Linked DNA regions of Homo sapiens: region 2 is linked to region 1. Evidence: promoter capture Hi-C in human tissues and cell types (Jung and others, 2019). All regions are on one chromosome and are shown on one strand. The core of a region is centred on a gene start or on the middle of the fragment in contact, and the rest is flanking DNA. Distances in the headings are between cores, read along the strand shown. Region 1 holds the start of NR2C2AP (nuclear receptor 2C2 associated protein). Region 2 overlaps SUGP2 (SURP and G-patch domain containing 2).

What was found. The method cuts DNA at HindIII sites, captures the fragments that hold promoters and counts their contacts. A contact is called where the count stands out against the background at its distance.
Region 2: a fragment that was not itself captured here is called in contact with the fragment with the promoter of NR2C2AP in region 1 in 1 of the 25 tissues and cell types used here (dorsolateral prefrontal cortex).

The regions. Positions count from the first base shown.
Region 1 is chr19:19,201,797-19,205,624 of GRCh38, reverse strand. It overlaps NR2C2AP (nuclear receptor 2C2 associated protein), which reads left to right and starts at 2,211. Exons shown (of 5, transcript NM_176880.6): 1 at 2,211-2,602; 2 at 2,744-2,834; 3 at 3,050-3,155; 4 at 3,227-3,294; 5 at 3,584-3,828. The coding sequence starts at 2,565. The coding sequence ends at 3,700. It overlaps RFXANK (regulatory factor X associated ankyrin containing protein), which reads right to left. Exons shown (of 10, transcript NM_003721.4): 10 at 3,759-3,828. RefSeq lists an enhancer at 2,011-2,305 and a silencer at 2,969-3,235. The HindIII fragment of the contact is 14,823 bases long and covers 1-3,828 here.
Region 2 is chr19:18,997,426-19,001,253 of GRCh38, reverse strand. The region is part of intron 8 of SUGP2 (SURP and G-patch domain containing 2); the gene reads left to right. Among named protein-coding and RNA genes, the nearest start is that of SUGP2, 34 kb to the left of the region's middle. The HindIII fragment of the contact is 7,801 bases long and covers 1-3,828 here.

The DNA.
Region 1 (3,828 bases), core at 962-3,461:
GAAGAGACAGGCCTTCTGCTGGTGACCCAGTTTCCCCGCCAGCCCCCACCCCTGCTGCCTGGGGTGGGTTTGAGCAGACACTAGTAGGATGCCGGAAGGACCATTCCTCCAGCCCTTGAAGAAAGGGGCTGGCTGCCAGACCATTCAGCTAAAGCCAGGAACAACAGCCTCTTGCCAGTGGCTGCTCTGTCTTGGAACCCTCCATTCATGCAGAACGGATGGTGTCCTGCCCTTTCTCCAACACCTTCCATGACTGCTCCGGGCCCAGCAGGATGTGGCTCCACATATTTTATTCAAATTCATGGTCTTTCACCCAACTAGGCCTTGGCTTATGCTAAGCTCCCTGCCTGGGACACCCTCCCCACTCCAGATTTTCTCACCCTTGTGAATTCCTGGCGCCTGACCCCCTATTAAGGTGCAGTTCTAACATCCCCTTTCCCAGGAAGCCCTTCCTCCAGGTAGAGCCCCTGCTCCTCCGGCCCCATCTCTCCCTTGGGGCTAGGAGTGTCTATGTCTACCTCTGTCTTGCCCAGATCAGGGGCTCCTCTGGGACAGGCCTGGAGCTGAGGCCTCTTGCTGTCCCCAGCATCATCCAGCAGAAGGCTGGACATGACAGTGTGACAGTAGAGCTTGCAGGAGGTGTCTAGTGAATCAGTGAACCAAATCTTCAGCTTGGTATCTGAGGCTTTGTTTGGCAAACTCCTGTTCATGCTTCAAAACCCACCTCACAGCCTGGGTGCGGTGGCTCACACCTGTAATCCCAGCACTTTGGGAGGCCAAGGCGGGCAGATCACGAGGTTAGGAGTTCGAGACCAGCCTGGCCAAGATAGCGAAACCCCATCTCTACTAAAAATACAAAAATTAGCCAGGCATAGTGGTGCGCACCTGTAGTCACAGCTACTCAGGAGGCTGAGGCAGGGGAATCACTTGAACCTGGGAGGCGGAGGTTGCAGTGAGCTGAGATCACACCACTGCACTCCAGCCTGGGCAACAAAGTGAGGCTCCGTCTCGAAACAAAACAAAACAGAAACAACAAAAAACACCCGACCTCGCATGCTCCCTCCTCCAAGAAGCCTTCCTTGACGTCCCAGCAGCATTTTCTGGGAAAGACAAACTTGGAGGCCAGGGCTCCTCTGTCCCAACAAGAACAAAAAGGGTTGATGAGGACTTCAGATACTCCCAACATCGTGGCCTTTTCCACAACTCTGCCTTTGGCCTCCGGGAGGCAGTGAAGTTCGGGGATTCCCAGGCTGCATTTAGTGGTTAGGGTAGAGTAGGTTAGAGTAGGTTAGGGTAGCCGTTAGGGTAGAGTAGGTTAGAGTAGGAAGAAAGACATTGTCATAGGAAGTCTCTCTGGCCGGGCGCGGTGGCTTACGCCTGTAATCCCAGCACTTTGGGAGGCTGAGGTGGGCGGATCACTTGAGCCCAGGAGTTCGAGACCAATCTGGGCAACATGGCGAAACCTCATCTCTACCAAAAAACAAACAAACAAACAAACAAACAAAATAGCCTGCCGTGGTGGCGCGCGCCTACTAGTTCCAACTATTCGGGAAGCTGGGTAGGAGGATTGCTGGAGCCTGGGAGGCAGAGGTCGCAGAGAGCCGCGATCCCACCATTGTACTCCAGCCTGGGTGACAGTGAGACCCCACTTCAAAAAAAAAAAAAAAAAAAGGCCGGGCGCGGTGGCTCAAGCCTGTAATCCCAGCACTTTGGAAGCCCCGGCGGCTGGATCACGAGGTCAGGAGATCAAGACCATTCTGGCTAACACGGTGAAACCCCGTCTCTACTAAATATACGAAAAATTAGCCGGGCGTGGTGGCGGGCGCCTGTATTCCCAGCTACTTGGGAGGCTGAGGCAGGAGAACGGCGTGAACCCAGGGGGCGGAGCTTGCAGTGAGCGGAGATCGTGCCACTGCACTCCAGCCTGGGCGACAGTGAGACTCCGCCTCAAAAAAAAAAAAAAAAAAAGGAAGTCTTTCGGATTCCAAAATCAGTCAAAATCAGTGCTCTACACCTTCGGGCGCCGAGGGACAGCGCCCCGTGCGCGCAGCCAGCCTTTTCCCTACAGCTTCAAGGGAACCAAGGTAAATTCAATCATCGAACCCGGGCCCTTTAAGAAGCGAGCATGAAGGGGCGGGGTCGAACCAAACCCCACCTCTGGAGCGTCCGCGGTCGGCGCCTGAATTACAACACGCATGCGCCAAGCCCACGCGGTTCCGGGTCCCAAGATTTGGCTCCAAGAGCTATTCGCAGAGAAACAGCCTCGCACAAAAAGCCACCGCCCCCGAAACCCGCGGGAAATCTGTTTCCTGTGAAAGGCCTGGCCTCCGGGCATTGGCGGTTTCCCTGATCCTCTCTCCCAAATTTTCCGGCAGGGGATTGATCGAGGCGACATTTAGGACTGGGGTGGGCGAGGGAGTGGCGGTTCTCGTCCCAAGTTACAGGTGAGGACGTTCAGGCCAAGGCGTAGCCAAGATCGCGCCGCCCTGTAGCTTGAGGAGGCGCCGGGATTCGAACCAAGGCTGTGCCCAATCCTAAGCCCTGCGAGGTCTTGTGGAACCGACATGACCCACTCTTTGGTTTGTCCAGAGACAGTGAGCAGGTAAGAGTCTGTGGGGACAGGCAGTGGCGAGGCCCTAAGCCTGGGGTCGAGCCCTCAGTGGACAGATCTGGGGGTCAGGCCCTCCGCGGAGCTGAGAGCTGGTCTCAGCCCCTCTCTTCGCCTTGATCCTGGTGCCTCCAGGGTGAGTTCAGTGCTGAATCGCAACACTCGGCAGTTTGGAAAAAAACATCTTTTCGACCAGGATGAGGAGACATGTTGGAACTCAGACCAGGTGAGGCGCCTCCCTCGACCCTCCATCTCTAGGGTGATTCAGATTCAGATCTCATGCCTTGAGAACGTCAGGGGGCCCTCATGGGTGGCCAGGAAAGGAACATGTGCCGAATTTCCTTCTTCCCCTCCATTCCAAGAACTATGTGAATGAGACAGGCATAGCAGGGCTCTGTGCCTGCAGTGAGCTTGCGCCTCAGTTTCCCTGTCTGCTTCCAGGGCCCCTCCCAGTGGGTGACGCTGGAGTTTCCCCAGCTCATCCGTGTCTCCCAGCTGCAGATCCAGTTTCAGGGTGGCTTCTCCAGTCGCCGGGGCTGCCTGGAAGGTACTAGAAGGCCCTGGGTGGCAGGGGTTCCAGGGGTCACCCCAGACACTCATTGCCTTTCTCTGCTGAAGGTTCACAGGGCACTCAGGCTCTCCACAAGATTGTAGATTTCTACCCTGAGGACAACAACTCGCTTCAGATATCCTGCCCCTGCTTCTGGGGTGGGTGGTCTGTGCCTCTGGAAGCTTTGGACTCACCCAAACCCGAATGGGAACCCTGATGTGTGATCTTGAACACGTGACCTCTAGGACTCCACTTTTTCTGTAAAATGGTGCTGATGACCACCTGTTCTGTGTGAGAGGCTTAGAGGGACCTGCAGCTTCCCCAGGTTGCCCACATCGGTGGAGTGTGAGCTGGGTCTGGAAGGGGTGGGGGCCTGCGGGTGGGAAACCAGAAATCACCAGTTTCCCTTGACTGCCCACGCTCACACTTTCCCCATACCAGCTGCTGAAGTGGACCGGCTGAAGGTGACGTTTGAGGATGCCACTGACTTTTTTGGCCGTGTGGTCATCTACCACCTGCGGGTGCTTGGGGAGAAGGTGTGAGACCTCTAGGGGCTGTCTCCTCCAGGAAGCCCTCCGGGAAGCACAGCAAAGTCCCTCATTCTGCACAGAAGGTTTATTGGTTCCTCTTGGGAAGGGTCCCCTCCCACCACCTGTCCAGAAGCTGCCTT
Region 2 (3,828 bases), core at 484-2,983, 200 kb after region 1:
CACAAGGTCAGGAGATCGAGACCATCCTGGCTAACACGATGAAACCCCGTCTCTACTAAAAATACAAAAAATTAGCCGGGCATGGTGGCAGGCGCCTGTAGTCCCAGCCACTCAGGAGGCTGAGGCAGGAGAATGGCATGAATCTGGGAGGCAGAGCTTGCAGTGAGCCGAGATCGCGCCACTGCACTCCAGCCTGGGCGACAGAGTGAGACTCCGTCTCAAAAAAAAAAAAAAAAGAAGTTCAAGCTAAGGCCGATTGGGTGTCTTACACTTGTGATCCCAGCAGTTTAGGAGGCCAAAGTGGGCAGATCGCTTGAGTCCAAGAGTTTAAGACCAGCCTGGGCAATAGGCAAAACCCTGTCTCTGCAAAAAATACAAAAATTAGTTGGGCATGGTGGTGCATGCCTGTAGTCCCAGCTACTCTGGAGGCTGAGGTGGAAGGATCATTTGGGCCTGAGAGGTCGTGGCTGCAGTGAGCTGATTGCACCACTGCACCCCAGCTTGGGCGACAGACTGAGAGCCTGTCTCAAAAAAAAAAAAAAAGTTCAAGTTATCCAGGTGCACTGATTCACGCCTGTAATCCCAGTGCTTTGGGAGGCCAAGACAGGGGGATCACTTGAGCCCAGGAGTTTGAGGCCAGCCTGGGCAACATAGTGAGACCTATGTCTCCTCCTGGTCTCCTTAAAAAATAAAACATAAAAACTTACAAGCTTAGTAGACTGGAAGGGTGGTGAAGAGAGTTCACTAATCTGCTAGTAAGCAGAGCGTGGTGTGTGCGGTCAGCACCTCCTACGTGCCAGGTCCCGACTGTCCACCTGGAGGCAGCAGCAAGCAGGGCCAACAGTGAAAGAGAAATGGATGAGGCAGTCCTGGGGATGCTGTGGGCAAAGAGAAGCAGGTCAAAGAGAGGGAGAATAAGGTGGGGTCGAGGGGATGCCGCTGAATTGGGAAAGCCAAGGGAGGTCTCTCTTGCAGATGACGTTGGCACAAGCCTGGAGGAGCTGAGGAGAAACAGTGTAGAGATCTGAGAAGGGCACAGCCTCGGTAGAGAGGCTGGGGCAGCAAGAGGCCTTTGTGGCAGCAGAGGAATCCGGGGGGTGGTCACACAGGACCTCAACAGATGTTAACGCTGTGGCCCTTTCTCAGGGAAGGGAGGGTACCTCTGGGACCTGTGGTGGATGTGGCCACTAGGGTGGAGAGCAGCCTGTGGGCGGGAACCAGGAGGAGGCTCAAACTTAAGACAGTTGGACCAGGGCATGAGGAGCAATGAGAAGGGGAGAAGATGGAGTGGGTGACACCTGCTTGTGGGCTGGGTGTGCAAAAGCCAGGAGTCCAGATGACCCCAGGGTTGTCAGCTTGGGCAGAAGAGGGACAGAACTGCCATTCACTGACCTGGAGCCAGGTTATGGAAAGGGGGCAGGTACACTCCAGATGGCCTGGGGGACACAGTGCTGGGGGCAAGCAGGGTCACCTGGGACACATGTGGAGAGACTTCACCAGTCCTTCATGGTCAGGGAGGAGGGCGGGGAGCCAGGCGAGATCGCTCTGCTGGTGTCAGGCAGTGCCATGTTGCTTCCAACCCCTTCCGAGTGACCTAGGTCAGTCTGACCCCAATTATGGCAGGAAGGAGGGACCTTCCCGAGTCCAGAGCTCATAGTCCTTACTGATGTGCCAGGTTTTAGGCTGAGCTGGCATCTGGTGCCCCTTGGTGTGGCCTGGATAAGGGCACGGCCAGATGAGGGCACAGCAGGACCTTGGTGTCAGGCACAGCTGTACTCTAGCTCAGCCCTGCCACCGAGTAGTTTTGTAACCTTGGCGTGTAACCCCTGAGCCACGGATTTGTCTGTAAAATGGGATGGCCACACTTACCCAGCAGGTAGGAGGTACAGTGAGGATTAAACTGAACGCGGTTCCTGGTGGGTGTCCTGCACATGCTGCTGTCTCCTTGGGGCTCTGCACCTGTCCTCCTGTCTGCCAGTGACTGTGGGTGGAAGGGAGGCCGTGGTGGCTGCAGCTTTCCTCTGCAAACCTCCACCTCGCCCACAGGGCTTGGCTTTCCTCCAGCTGTCCAGGAAACCACCATCATGATTGTTAAACACAGATTTGAACATTCACGAAGAAACTTCCAGGCTGAGCCAAACCCTCTTCCTCCCACTGCACCTCCAAGCAGCCTTCCTGAAAGGGAAAAGAGTACAGACCTGCCCTCTGGGGACCCCTGTGCCCTGCCATGACCAGCCTTTCCCCTTCCTTCCCTACCCGTCATCCCAGGGCCCAGGTCGTGCACAGCTCCCAGAAGGGCCTGACGGATGCCCCGTTTCTCATCTCAGCCGGTGGGTTCTGTCACCTCTTTTCTCCAGGCCACTTTCTCATGGCAAGGGGCCCCCCAGTGTAGCAGGTCCTGTCTGGTGTCCCCTGGTTTGCAGGGGTGTCTCTTCACTGTTTGTGCCCCTCTTCCTGTCCCAGCCCATAGCATAGCTCCTCCCTTCATACCTCCCCTCCTTAACTGCCCTGCAGAGACACTTCTGCCCACACCGCCTCACCAAGACCACCTCATGCCATTATGGAGGGGCCGCCTGCATCCAGTAACTCACGCACACACACAAGATACACACATGTGCACGCATATGCACACACACATGCATACACACACGCACACACACATGCATACACACACACAGCTACTTTATATAATACCCTCGGAGATGCCTCTGAAGAGAACAAAGGGAATTTCCCTCCGCCTTTGAAGGTCCAAGTCTAAGCCTGTTGAAATGAACTGACAATAAGAAGATTAACAGGATAAAAAAAGGTGTGCGGTGGCTTACACCTGTAATCCCGGGACTTTGGAAGGCCAAGGCAGGGGGATCACTTGAGCCCGGGAGTTCAAGACTGCAGTGAGCCATGATGGAGCCACTGCACTCCAGCCTGGGTGACAGAGCAAGATCCTGTCTTGAAACAAAAAAGTTATACATATTTATTCACGTGCATAAGCACAGGAGCCATATAAAACATTATGAAAACTCAAAGAAGGGCCAGGTGGTTGAAGCTGAAATACCTCTTTGTAGGGGAGAGGGCAGATGGGAGGCTGTAGGTAACTTTAGAGGGGAAGCAGATGATTTTAGGAGAGATGAATGGAGGCAGGCATCATCTTGTGAATGATCCTCATTGAGAATTGAATGGGACTAGAGAACAGCCAGTGGTCTGGGCTCTAGGTGTGGTGTTTAATGTTCCATCTCTTCTTGTGTGATAGGAGTTTTCAACTCTGGTTAATGACATTTCAGGGAAGGGATCCAAGGCCCTTGTGTTCTTCTTTGGCAAGTCCAGTTTCTAGGTAGATAGGGAACTTGAAGAAAACAGCTTCCTCCTGTGCTTTGGGAGGGACCTTGAGGCTGCTACTTTAGTCCCACCTGTCAAAGTGCTATAATTCGGGGTATCGCTTTCTTTCTTTCTTTCTTTTTTTTTTTTTTTTTTTTTGAGACGGAGTCTCCCTTTGTCGCCAAGGCTGGAGTGCAATGGCATGATCTCAACTCACTGCAACCTCTGCCTCCCAGGTTCAAGGGATTCTCCTGCCTCAGCCTCCAGAGTAGCTGGGATTACAGGGGCGTGCCACCACACCTGGCTAATTTTTGTATTTTTAGTAGAGATGGGGATTCACCATGTTGGTCAGGCTGGTCTCAAACTCCTGACATCGTGATCCACGCACCTTGGCCTCCCAAAGTGCTGGGACTACAGGCGTGAGCCACCGCGCCCAGCCTTAGGGTATCCGTTTCTGACCCCCTACATCTTGCTGCATGTTGAGTTCTCAGCACCTCTCCAGGTTGTTTTGTCCCT